Linked DNA regions of Homo sapiens: regions 1 and 2 are each linked to region 3. Evidence: promoter capture Hi-C in 16 types of primary human blood cells and fetal thymus (Javierre and others, 2016). All regions are on one chromosome and are shown on one strand. The core of a region is centred on a gene start or on the middle of the fragment in contact, and the rest is flanking DNA. Distances in the headings are between cores, read along the strand shown. Region 1 overlaps SLC19A2 (solute carrier family 19 member 2). Region 2 overlaps DARS2 (aspartyl-tRNA synthetase 2, mitochondrial). Region 3 holds the start of PRRC2C (proline rich coiled-coil 2C).

Region 1 (4,776 bases), core at 690-3,189, 2.0 Mb after region 3:
AATGCTTGTTTTTTGCCATGGACAGTTAAATAAAAAAAATTACATGATTTTTAAGCAAAGCTAATGCTAAGTCATATTCAGCGACATTTGTATTAAAGTTTGTATTTGCTCTTAGAAGACTGCAGAAGGGCCAAGTTGGTTTGAATAGAGCTATTGTTAACTAAATCCTAAAACAAAAGGAGAGGAGAAAAAGATTTCTTCTGTCTACTCTCAAAAGTTTTTTTCTTAGATTTCAGGAAAAGCATTAATTTTAAAACAGATACCAGTGTGTAAGTTTTAAGCAGGCTAAAATTTGACTGTATGTTAATAGTTGAAGGCCAGACTTTCAGTAAAACAGATCTTTATCTCTAAAAACTTTTTTATCCTTTCATCATTGTAGCATGTGTTTTGACAGACATTTACTACCTTTCTTAGATTTTTTTAAACATTCCACCTATTTTGCCTGATATTCAGAGCCTCACGAAGTTTGGTTTTTACCTCCTTGACAGCCTTATATCCTACTACAAACCTTCTTCCCCTTACCACTTCCACATAACCAAGCTCCATTCATATTAATCTAATAGTCTTAAGTCCAGCATATCCACAGTCTCATCTGTTGACATGTACTCAAAGACTTATTCTCTTCTTGGAATAATCTTCCCATATATATCTGTTGATATCTTTGTTAGCCTTTAGGTTTCTCATCCTTCAAGGTCCATTTTGAAGAAACAACCCTGTATTTCCTATTTCCATTATAAATACTGCATATATTATATATTCCTCACTAGGTTCAATACTCCTGGAGAGCTGAGGATCTCAGTTTATTTATTTAGAGACAGTCTTGCTCTGTTGCCCAGGCTGGAGTGCAGTGGTGCGATCTCGGCTCACTGCAACGTCTACCTCCCAGGTTTAAGCGATTCTCATGCCTCAGTTTCCTGAGTAGCCAGGATTATAGGCTTGTGCCACTACTCTCAGCTAATTTTTTATATTTTTAGTAGAGTCGGGGTTTTGCCATGTTGGCCAGGCTGGTTTTGAACCCCTGGCCTCAAGTGATCTGTCCAACTTGGCCTCCCAAAGTGCTAGGATTACAGGCATGAGCTACAGTGCCTAGCCTTATTTTATTCTTTTTTTTTTAAATTTTTTAATTTTAATTTTAATTTTTATTTTTTGAGATGGAGTTTCGCTCTTGTTGCCCAGGCTGGAGTGCAATGGCGTGATCTCGGCTCACTGCAATCTCTGCCTCCCAGATTCAAGTGATTCTCCTGGCTCAGCCTCCCAAGTAGCTGGGACTACAGGCACACGCCACCATGCCCGGCTAATTTTTTTGTATTTTTAGTAGAGATGGGGTTTTGCCATGTTGGCCAGGCTGGTCTCGAACGCCTGACCTCAGGTAATCTACCCACCTCGGCTTCCCAAAGTGCTGGGATTACAGGCATGAGCCACTGCGCCTGGCCATTTTATTCTTTTTGTCACCTCCGTGCTGGTTGAAAACAATGTTGTGCAAATAACTGCCTATTAGTTGTTTAATTGAAACTTGATTCTAATTTAAAGCCTAAATCTAAATTAGAACTTAAAAATGAACATCTGTTTTCCCTTGACTTTGTAGCTCAAGAAAACACAAGCACTGATCCAAAGAGTTGTGAAAGGCACCTTGGTCATAATAAAATCAATTCCCGTTGCTCACATAGCAGATGTTACGTGAAGTGAGAAGTTGGAGTATGGACAATTAATAAGGGTCTGTAATTGGTACATTTTTGCCTGTAGGATGTTTCCCTTCAAGATTCAAAATATCAAGGAAGCATTTTTTGCTGTCATTGGAAACACTGAAAAAGAAAAGGATCTGCCTTGGAGACCCATTAGTTAAGTGCTGGAGACTGTAGTCTTTATCTCTTCATGAATGCCCTGTAAAAGCACCTCAGTGCAGATTGGAAAAGCTACTGCAAGCATTAGAATTAACCTGGAAGATAGTAGATGATTAATAGCAGTTTTCTGATTGAAGAAACCAGGCATTTTAGTGTGGCGGATTCAGAATTTATGAATTCAGATCCTTCTTCTGCCAATCCTGTGATAACTTGGGACAATTCACTTAACCTTTCTTTAAGGCCAAGTTTCCTTGTTTGTAAAATAGAGATGATAGAAGCATTTACCTTAGGTTTGTGGTTTGGATTAAATAGAGAGAATTTAGAGAAAGTGCTTAGCGTGGTGTGTAACACAGCAGTAGAGGTTTGTTATTATGATGCTGATAATAGTGTGAGTGGGGCATTCCCCCTGGGTTGATGTCTTTTAAAGGAGAAAATGCAGGTTTCTTATTTAGAATAAGTTAAAGAGAAACTATCTGGTCTTCCCCCTCTCCCCTATTTGCCTTTCTTTTTGTTTTTAGTTGTTATTGCAAGGTTGGCAGTGTTACTCTCCTCCATCTTCATTATCTAAATTGTAGTTTTGTAATAGTAGAATTAGACTCATGAGTAAAGATACGTTAAATTGATAATTTAAAGGATGAAACTTAGACAATGAAAACTTAGCAGTTAATCATTTTGGGACAACTATGGTTAAAAGTTATGTAACATGTCTAAGCACAGACAATATTATTGGAGTGAAGAGGTCATCCAAAATCCCAAAACAAAGGAAGATGAACTATTGAAGGGAGCAGTAGAGGACATTTTTAAAGGAAAGGTTTAATGGCTAGTACTTCATGGTGCTATGTTGGGGAAATTGTGAAGGTGACACTTAGTCAAACAGAGGAGGCAGTTTCAAACTTTAGAAAATGGACAGGCTGGGTGCGGTGGTTCACAGCACTTTGGGAGGCTGAGGCGGGCGGATCATGAGGTCAGGAGTTCGAGACCAGCCTGGCCAACATATTGAAACCCTGTCTCTCCCAAAAATACAAAAAATTGGCCCGGCATGGTGACAGGCACCTGTAATTCCAGCTACTCGGGAGGCTGAGGCAGGAGAATCGCTTGAACTCAGGAGGCAGAGGTTGCAGTGAGCCGAGATCACGCCATTGCACTCCAGCCTGGGTGACAAGAGTGAAACTCCGTCTCAAAAAAAAAAGAAAGCTGACAGATAGTATCTGTAAAAGTATAGGCCACAAAGGAATGACAAGTTGTTAATTAGAACACAACTGGAAATCTCAAGATTACCCTTACCTGCTTTGGTTTTCTACTTAGAGTTATTTAATGCAGCTAAGGGCACTTTTTTCCTCATTTGCTAAAATTTCCACAGTTTTGAATACGAATCATTTCTACATTTCTTGATTATTCGTTTAGGCACATAGTCAGGTGCAACAAAATTTCCTGATCAAGTGGAGCTTGCTAACTGATTTACCAACACAAATTAGACCAAAATTCATGAAGGTGAGGCCATTAAACAGATCACTTTTGTCTGGAATGTATTTCAGAAAACAGGGATTATGTTTTACTTTTATAGCTATGCTCTGCACTGGCAAGAGATTTTGCAACAATTTTTTATTGTTTGCCTAAAACCTTAGAACCTTAGCTCATATTAGACTTGAGTGAACTGAGATGTACAGGAAAGATAAAAAGAAAGTTACTATTGGTCTCAGAATGTAAAAGTCTGGGATTAGGTTGCTTCATCACAAAGTATTCAGCCTTTTACCAAAACTACCTTTCAAAAAGCACTTAAAAGTTGAGGCCACTGACAAAAGGAAGGAAAAATCTCCTACAGTGATTGTTGTTGGAAGAATGGGAATGATAGCTCAATTAATTTAGTTAATTCATACTGCCCCAGATGTCCTTGTCAGCTTGTCCTCTAGTCTTCAGACTTTGTGAATAAATCAGGTGGAGTAAGTAATTTACATGTTGTGTCTCATTTACTTTTTGCAACAAACAACCGCCCTTTACTGATAATGGAGATTAAGGCTAAGGGGAACTAAAAGAATGTTGTCTACAATCACACAGCAAGTGATGGAACTGAAATTCCTGTTGGGGTCTTTCTGGTTTAAAGTTTATTTTAAAGATCATTTCTACTATATCCCAATTTTAAAATATGCATTAGAAAGAAAACAGCAAAAACTTCTTTTTTCTATTTAAAAACAAGCAAAAAGAAGGACATAAAAGTTGCCTATATTCCTGCCATCTAGAGAGACTTAATTCTGTCAAGACTGTAGGACACATTGACCATCTTTATTTGTTCCTCTGCCCCAAAAGAAACAAAACTTAAAGTCAGAGAAGCTTAATGAAACAGTAGGATAAAGGCTCCCTATCTTGTGTCTAGAAGTAAGAATTGACAGTGATTCCGTTTTCAAAGCATTTATTGAATAGTATCTTCCAAACAGTATGCTGGCTTTTAGACAGGTTATACAGGTGAATGTAGGGGTCTATCCTTAAAAAGCCTATAAGGCAGTTGTTCTCAACTCTGGCTCATTTAAAACTCTATTGGGAAGTTTTTAGAAAATATCTGTGGCTGGGCATTTTTTTTTTTTAAAGAGACAGAGTCTTGCTCTGTCATACAGACTGGAGTGTAGTGGTGTGATCATAAGTCACTGCAGCCCCAAACTCCTGGGCTCAAGCAATTCTCCCACCTCAGCCTCCTGAGTAGCAGCCATAGGCATGTGCCACAACGCTTGGCTAACACATTTTTTTAAAGCTTCTTAGGAGATGCAGCCATGGTGAAGAGCCAGTATTATGAATTAATTGGGGAAACTGATGCATATAGATCAGTATTAGGAGAGTTTGAGGCTAGGCCAGATGGCTCACATGTCTGTAATCCCAGCAGTTTGGGAGGCTGAGGCTGGTGGATTGCTTTGAGCCCAGGAGTTTGAGACCAGCCTGGGTAACG
Region 2 (4,338 bases), core at 1,732-4,231, 2.4 Mb before region 3:
TGCAGTGAACTGAGATCATGCCACCGCACTCCAGCCTGGGCAACGGCGAGACTTGGTCTCAAAAAAAAACACACACACAAAACTACCACCACCTACCCCAATCGGTTACCCTTTACTTTTCATGTGACCACCATGACCTATTATGTGTTTTGTTCTTACTTCCCCCACAAGAATGTAAGCGCTTCAAGTTTATTCCTTAATGTTGGAAAAATGAATGAAACTGCAAATGTAGTAGATCAGTTTTTGGGGAGGTACCAAAGACAAGTTGGTAAAATACCTTGATTTTGAAGTGAAAAACGATGTTACATTTCAAAGTATCTTTTCGCCAGGTTATGGCTCAGGCTTCGAGACCAGCCTGGCCAACATGGCAAAACCCGGTCTCTACTGAAAAAAAGCGAAAATTAGCCGGGTGTGGTAGTGTGGGCCTGTAGTCCCAGCTACTCTGAACCCTGGAGGTGGAGGTTGCAGTGAACCAAGATCGTGCCACCTCACTCCAGCCTGGGCCTCCTAGGCTCAAGTGATTGTTGTGCCTCAACTACCTGAGTAGCTGGGATGACAGGTGTGTGCCACCACTCCCAGCTAATTTTTTTTTCTGTATTTTTAGTAGAGATGGAGTTTCACCATGTCAGCCAGGCTAGTCTTGAACTCCTGGCCTCAAGTGATCCAACTGCCCTGCCCTCCCAAAGTGCTGGGATTACAGGTGTGAGCCACTGCATCCAGCCAAGTTCTATTCTTTTTTTTTTTTTTTTTGAGACGGAGTTTCGCTCGTGTTGCCCAGGCTGGAATGTAGCGGCGCAATCTTGGCTCACTGCAACCTCCACCTCCCAGGTTCAAGCGATTCTCCTGCCTCAGCCTTCCAAGTAGCTGGGATTACAGGCGTGGGCCACCATGCCTGGCTATTTTTGTATTTTTAGTAGAGAGGGGGTTTCACCACGTTGGCCAGGCTGGTCTCGAACTCCTGACCTCGTGATCTGCCCACCTAGCCTCCCAAAGTGCTGGGATTACAGGCGTGAGCCACCGCATCCAGCTTCTTGTTCTCTCTTTTATATATAAGTGCCATTTGCTGAATCAGAAAACTTTTTGACAAGCATATTAAAAGATTTCAGTTGTATGTAGTAGCTCATGCCTGTAATCCCAACACTTTGGGAAACCAAGGTGGGGGGATTGCTTGAGTCCAGGAGTTCAAGACCGGCCTGGGCAACATAGTGAGACCCTGTGTCTACAATTAAAAAAAAAAAGAAAAAAAAAGTGAGCCGGGCATGATGGTGCATGCCTGTAGTCCCAACCACTCATGAGACTGAGGTGGGACGATCGCTTGAGCCCAGGAGGTTGAGGATGCAGTGAGCTGTGTCACACCACTGGATTCCAGCCTGGGTGACAGGGTGAGATGTTGTCTCAAATAAAATATTAAAAATTGGATCACCTTATTCAGCATTCTGTTGTTTAGCAGTTTTGGAATTTTAGTTGTTAGTAAATCTTGACCTTGAGTACACGTTATTTTGATATTCTGTGTGACAAAATGGGAAGTATGCATGAAGCACATCTGCCATAAAGTATGGATGTCTAGATTTTTTTTTCCCTAGAAAAAGTAGTTACAATTGTTTGAGATACAAGCTGAACTAGCTGCTTGTTTTCACAGAACATTTTTAGTTTGAAAAAACCTGACAAATTGATTATTCATATTTTAGGGGTAATTTTGGCAGAGATTTGCTCAAAAAAGAACAAGTCAGCTTGGAAAAAACTGATGGCATTTGTTGCCAATGATAAAACTCAAGCTTCCAAATGAAACCTAAAATTTTGGAAGGCTTGTATACACTTCTGTGCCCTTATAGCTTCCTCAGACTTAGACTTTTGTAATGGGATTGGTGGTAATATTAATTAATGGTATTTTGTTTTAGATATTGTATATCAAAATGTGTCAACATTTGGAAGATTTGCATAACTCAGTGAACCAATATTTTCCAAATGATCAATCACTGGACTGGTGTTACAAATATCACACATAGGTAAAAGTTCTATTTAAATACAAGGTACACCAATGGACTTTAGAAAAGCTCATCAATACGATTTCAGAATCCACATTGCAACTAGCCTTTAAGGAACTCTACTACTTGTCATATTTTGGTGTGGTATCAAAGAGAGTATCCATAATTATCAGACAAAGCTATTAAAATACTCCTCCCTTTTCCAACTTTATATATGAGTGGGGTCAGATTTTCTTCACAGACTTCAACCAAAACAGCATATAACAACAGATAGGATACAGAAGCAGATATCAGAATCTAGTGTCTTCTATTAAGCCAGAAATAAAAAATATTTGCAGAAATATAAAACAATGTTACTCTTCTATTTTTTTTTTGAAAATAATTATTTTTAAAATAAAAACATGGCTGAGTGTGGTGGCTCACGCCTTTGTAATCCCAGAACTTTGGGAGGCTGAGGCAGGCGGATCACCTGAGGCCAGGAGCTTGAGACCAGCCTGGTCAACATGGCAAAACCTCGTCTCTACTAAAAATACAAAAATTAACCAGGTGTGGTGGAGGGCACCTGTGGTCCCAACTACTCAGGAGGCTGAGGCAGGAAAACTGCCTGAACCCGGGAGGTGGAGGATGAAGTGAGCCAAGATCGCACCATTGCACTCCAGCCTGGGCAACAGAGTGAGACTCTGTCTCAAAATAAAATAAAATAAAAACATGCTATTTGTGTTAACATGTAATGGGTTATTTTAAAATGAATTTAACATTTTAAACTAAATCATTAAATCAATTATTAATTAATTAAATAGGAGGCTGAGGCAGGAGAATCACTTGAACCCAGGAGGTGGAGGTTGCAGTGAGCCAAGATGGTGCCACTGCACTCTAACCTGGGCAAAAGAGCGAGACTCTGTCTCAAAAAAAAAAAAGGTATAAATCAAAAGAATTTCAAGGCAGAAGTGAAGACTGAGTAGAAGAAAACAATTTCAAAATCACTGATCAAGACCTTGTTCTCATTTTGTCTTTTTTTGAAATGGAGTCTTGTTCTGTTGCCAGGCTGGAGTGCAGTGGTGTAACCTCGGCTCACTGCAATCTCCACCTCCTGGGTTCAAGTGATTCTCCTGCCTCAGCCTCCTGAGTAGCTGGGACTACAGGTATGTGCCACCACACCCAGCTAATTTTTGTATTTTTAGTAGAGATGGGGTTTCACCATGTTGGCCAGGATGGTCTCAGTCTCTTGACCTTGTGATCTGTCTGCCTCAGCCTCCCAAAGTGCTGGGATTATAGGCGTGAGCCACTGTACCCGGCCTCATTTTATAATTATTAGTTTATTAAAACTTTTATGTGTATGATTAGAACTTAAAATCACAATGAGTTTTGGTGTTCACTTTTTCGCACATTTGAGGTTAATCTAAGGTTGATTAGAATTTTCAATTACTTATAATTGAGAGAAAATAGTGTTCAGTGATTAATAATATCTTTGTTGTCTTTTTTTTTTTGAGATGGAGTCTTGCTCTGTCACCCAGGCTGGAGTGTAATGGCACCATCTTGGCTCACTGCAACCTCCATCTCCCAGGTTCAAGCAAACCTCATGCCTCAGCCTCCCGAGTGGCTGCGATTACAGGCATGCGCCACCATGCCTGGCTAATTTTTGTGTTTTTAGTAGAGACGGTTTCACTATGTTGGCCAGGCTGGTGTTGAACTCCTGACCTCAAGTGATCCACCCACCTCAATCTCCCAAAGTGCTGGGATTACAGGTGTGAGCCACCACTCCCGGCCAATAATATCTTTAAAACTAAAAAAAAAAACAGAAAATTGATAAGTAAAATGACTTTTACTATTGATATCAGTTTTGTTTAATCTGAAACTATAAAATAGAGATATATCTACCTATTTATGGATGGATAATACCATCATCTCATATTTGTGGAATGCTTTATAGTTTTTCAAAGTACTTTTATTCACTTTATCTTCCATATATGTTATCTCCTCTGATTCCAGCAATAACAGCCCGGTGAGGTAGCCAGGGCAAGTATGTATTTTACACATTAGCAGGAAGGGAGGCTAAGCGAGGTTTATGTAACTTACTCAGGCTGAAACACTGAAGAAAAATTTGTGACTCTCATTTCAGTGATGTTTTCTGCATTATTAAAAAATATTATGCTACTCCTCACTATATTATGTTGATGGTTGAAATGTCATTATAAAGCTTAATTTATATGATTCTCTTGATGAGGATGATGAAGCAAATGCTCCATCAACTCACTAGTTTACAGGGGCAAGCATTTTCCTACATTTCACACATAATTTGATTACCTCTGTCCTAAGTGAATAATCTACTATCTGGGTATGAGAAACATGATTT
Region 3 (4,565 bases), core at 1,810-4,309:
TGGGAGGCTGAGGCAGGAGATTCTCTTGAGCCCAGGAGTTGGAGGCCAGCCAGGGCAACAGAGTTAGGTCTGTCTCTTAAATAGAAAATTTACTAAAGTTACCCTCTCTATAGAACGCTTTTATCCACAAAGGTGTTCTGGCTCATGCATCGATGAGATTAGCGAGGAATTTAAAATGTTATTACTCATAAAACTAACACAGTAACTCTCAGACTTGTAAGCAACAATTAACATAGACTGAGATAAGCTTTCATTGTGTTGTCCTATTCATAAGGTGACAAAATCACGATTTACCGAAATGAAAGTGTGTCATAACTCAGACACAATTTTTGTATGTCCTTCACTGTAAGAATACAATTCTGTACTAACTTATGTAACATTTTACCAATGATCAATTCTTGTCATTTACAAATATGACATAAATAGCATCCAAAACACAAGTTACCTAACTAACAAACTGAAGTAGTGTTTAGGGGTGGCACTTGGAGGCAGACAGGGATATAATATAATCTTCAAAGACATTTTATCACTAAAGAGGGTGGGGTGGGGGTAAGAAGAAGAGAGGGGGCTGGAATGAGCCAGAACTTCTGCATTTTCAGCTATGAACAAGATACTCATCCCAGGGATATTTACTGTAGAGCATAAAGAAATCGCTAAGAAGCAAAATCCTGCATATAAGTAGACATATCAGGGATAAGGGGAGGTGAAATTTTCTTATGTACCTAAAGAAATATATACATCACCCTGAGAATTTACAGATTATTTATTGCTTGGAAGAGAGTATTTTCTTCTACCAATATCCTACCATTCTCCCTCCACTATTAGTTGACCTTTTACTATGCACTAAGCATAGTAATAAGCCCTTTACATACATTATCCATTATCTTTTTTTACTCCTATAAAAGCCTCTGAGGGAAGTCCTATTATCATCACCATTTTACAGATGAGGGAATATTCTACCAATAATATAGATCAGACGCCTAAATTTAAAAATTATATCTACGACATGGTAGAGTTAGTTTTAAGTTATCTCTAAGCACTCAAATAGAAAAGGACACAAAAAAATTAGCCTCTACCCCAAGTCCAAAGTGGATATATTCCATTTTTACAACTTTCAAAACTTTAACCTTAGCATGCAACAATATTCATATACTAGTCAAGCTAAAGAAAAACTACTAGTTAATAATGCTTTATCTTATTTAGTTACTGTAGTTTATAATTTAAAAAGCAGGTTGAAGGTTTAGAGCATCCCCTTTGGGTTCAGACAGTATGGAATTGAACCTACACAATACCACCAATAACTGCTATGTGACCTTGGTCAGACTACTCTCTCAGATTTCATTTCCTCATCTGTAAAATGGGGATGATCTTAATAGCACTTTTCTCAAAGGTCTGTTGTGGAGATTAAAAAAAAAATGTATGAAAAGGACTTATTACTGTGCTCAGTGTATAGCAAAAGGTCACCTAATGGAGAACAGCCACACATAAGCTAAGCAGAGCAAACACAATCACTTAAAAAGGCTATATTCTGAAAATCCACTTACAGAAAAGGAGAGAATTACTATTTGACTACATGCTAAAGACAAAATTCAAGTTCAATTTATTCCTAATTTTTTAGGGGATCAATGCATTTGGGGTGAGCCAGAAAAGATGCTGCAGTGCATCTGTGACACACACCTAAAAATGGCTCCAGTCAAAGCAGCATCTTAATTACCAATATGGGAGGTGAAATCTAGTTTTGAAAAATGGTGGGGTTAGGCTTGGTAGGTGCTTAGTATCACCCTATTATTTTTATTTGCAGGAGTAAGCTATTAAGTACTCAACAATCAAAAAATCCTCCGATTCTTCTGGTGCATTCCAAATGAAAATCTTACAGCAGAGCCGCCTACTGTACAATTCTAAGTACTCTAACGAGGTATGAATCTATGAACCCAGGCTGAAAACCAGCCAATGCGGAAATCCAGGTAGCTTTATAAGCCAGCAAACATCAGGCATGTCAGACCCTCAAAAGATCCCAAATAATGTCAAAACACACATACATCCCTTTAAATTAAAGGTACTCCTCTCATGCAAAGGAAGGAAGACTCTATCAATGTCTCTATAGTGGCCCCATGCCCTTTTCTTCAGTCCTAAAACGGGGCCTTTACCCTGACACCACCAATATCAACGCTATCTCAAAGACAGGGAGCTACCGAGATTCACCACGCAAGTTAGAGGATGGAGCGGCCTAGAGTGTGAAAAGACTACCCAAATCCTCCTCCGGAGTTGGGCAGCACTTCCCTAGCGGAAGTAGGGTTGGTCTTGATTCCCCGAAGAGCCTCTCATCTAACCAGGTCTTTAAACCAGACCCTCCCATACATTGCTCATTGCAAGTCCCACCCTCACTACACAGGAAGAGGTAGACAGTGAAAGCCCCGGCTGAGTCCTTCAGTTGTTTGGGGAAACGCATACCCGACACTAAAAAAAAAAAAAAAAAAAAAAGACTTCACGTCCGCCAGTCCAGGAAGACGGAAACCCCCTTCGCTTACCCGGCAACATGCGTAATCCCCTCGCAGGGCCAGGACTGGGGTCTAGGTGGGAGCAAGACAGACCGGTCCAGAACTCCCGCTGCAGACCACATGGGGCGGGTCTGACTCCGGTTTCCCGCTCCCCAAGCTGGAGGCCGACTTCCCCAGACACAGAGATGATGGTAACCAAACAGAAGGGAAATGCCCGGACCCAAGGCCCTCTCCACGCGGCCCCCTAGCCTCCGGGCGCCAGGGTCTGGGTGCGCTCCCACGCCCCAGGCCGCACTCTGGCCGTTCCCGATGGGGCCCTCTTTGATCGCGGCCCCCACACCCTCGCTTTCCTTACCGGTCAGGGTGAGTGTCAAGTTTGCGCACTTCGAGGGTCTCCGCCGATCTCTGATCGAAAGAAGGGGGAGGGAAAGCTGGGGTTAAAGGGGTGGCCGGAAGGGCCACCAGACTGGAAAAGCCGAAGCTGCGGATGGACAAACCGCCAAAGCACTTTCGCAGCTTTCCGAGGGGGAGCGAGCGAGCGAGAAAAAGAAGCAAGATGGCGGCTAGCCAGCCCCTACGTACTACGTCATGACGCTAAGTACGTAGGTCAAATCTCCGCAAGACCACACTCCTGCGCAGAGACGGCCGGATCACGTGAAGCCTCCGTGGCGGCCCAACCCCGACAGAGGGTGCTGGCGCTTCCTGCTGGACGGAGGGAGTTTCTGCAATCAGAATTATCTTTTCAGGACAAAGCTTGGACCTGAGACCTTTCTAAGAAGTCTTGAATTGACCACGTTTACAAGTTGATAATAAGCCTCAGTGAAATGAGCACTCTTATGTCTGGTGGGTGGATGTGTAAATGGTTGAACCAGCAGTTCGCCAGTATGTCTCAGTGAATTTGGGGCAAGCTGAGAAGTCTTGGTGTATTGAAAAGTTATCACAGAGAGTGAAAGTAAAACTAGTGTGAGGAACAGAGTAGCATGGGCTGCTGAGAGCACTTTTTAAGTTTCTAATTATGGATGTGAGATAAGCCATTCAGTTTATTTATATGATCTCTCCATCACAGTGTTCAGCTCCGTTGAATAGTAAGATTCACCCATGCTGGCTTTTACTAGGCAAGTGTAACATAGGCAGATGAGTGTATCTGGAAGTGGGAGACTACAATGATGATAATATTATGTCAGAACAGATGGCGAATGTTTAGTAAATGGTATCTTTTGTCCTCTTTGTGAACTACCTATGACATATTTAAAATTCAAGGATTTCTTACCACTTCTGGTCTGAACGATCTTCCCCGCCAGTAGCTGGTGTATGTCCATGGAATTGTCACTGTAGCAATGTTAGAATAAATGAAATAATAAAGAGAGGTAAATTATGAACACCTCCCTCCCCACTAATATTAATTTGAAGTAGAAAAGTCTGGACTTGCTTGGTGGCTCATGCCTGTAATACTAATACTTTGGTAGGTCAAGGCAAAAGGATTGCTTGAGACCAGGAGTTCAAGACCAATCTGGGCAACATAGTGAGACCCTACCTCTGCAAAAAAATTAAAAAGAAAAAAAGCTAGCTAGGCATAGTGGCACATGCTTATAGTCCTAGCTACCTGGGAGGCTGGAGGCAAAAGGATCACTTGAGCACAGGAGGTTGAGGCTGCAGCGAGACTCTTTCTCGAAAAAATAGAAAAGAAGAAAAGAAAAAGTTTTTTTATTGATATAGGGTCATTGCCAGGGGAAAGCCTACTGATCATCCACAAGAGGACAAGGAAGCATTACTTTAGTGAATTTCTACAACCTTCTAGGATCTGGTCTATAGTGTCCTGGTCACAGAAACATCTTTCTTTGTTTTTTTGGAGGCAGGGTCTCACTTTGCTGCCCAGGCTGGAGTGTAGTGGCATAATCACAGGTCACTGAAGCCTCAACCTCCCAGGCTCAAGCAATCCACCTGTCTCAGCCTCCCAGGTAGGTGGGACTACAGGTGCTTGCCACAAAACCTGGCTTTTTTTTTTTTTTTTTTTTTTTTTTGCCAGTAGAGACGAGGTCTTGCTATGTTGACTGGGCTGGTTTCGAA

What was found. The method cuts DNA at HindIII sites, captures the fragments that hold promoters and counts their contacts. A CHiCAGO score of 5 or more calls a contact.
Region 1: a contact is called between a fragment that was not itself captured here and the fragment with the promoter of PRRC2C in region 3, in 1 of 17 cell types (neutrophils). The highest score is 6.7, in neutrophils.
Region 2: a fragment that was not itself captured here is called in contact with the fragment with the promoter of PRRC2C in region 3 in 1 of 17 cell types (total CD4 T cells); the score reaches 5.8 in total CD4 T cells.

What each region holds. Positions count from the first base shown.
Region 1 is chr1:169,478,574-169,483,349 of GRCh38, reverse strand. All of the region lies in intron 1 of SLC19A2 (solute carrier family 19 member 2), which reads left to right. Among named protein-coding and RNA genes, the nearest start is that of SLC19A2, 5.0 kb to the left of the region's middle. The HindIII fragment of the contact is 4,464 bases long and covers 1-4,171 here.
Region 2 is chr1:173,857,997-173,862,334 of GRCh38, reverse strand. DARS2 (aspartyl-tRNA synthetase 2, mitochondrial) reads right to left here. Exons shown (of 17, transcript NM_018122.5): 17 at 3,789-4,338. Among named protein-coding and RNA genes, the nearest start is that of GAS5-AS1, 3.1 kb to the left of the region's middle. RefSeq lists enhancers at 1-704, 705-1,421 and a silencer at 784-934. The HindIII fragment of the contact is 2,407 bases long and covers 1,778-4,184 here.
Region 3 is chr1:171,484,024-171,488,588 of GRCh38, reverse strand. It overlaps PRRC2C (proline rich coiled-coil 2C), which reads right to left and starts at 3,059. Exons shown (of 35, transcript NM_001387844.1): 1 at 2,854-3,059. RefSeq lists enhancers at 2,506-3,254, 3,161-3,470. The HindIII fragment of the contact is 3,004 bases long and covers 250-3,253 here.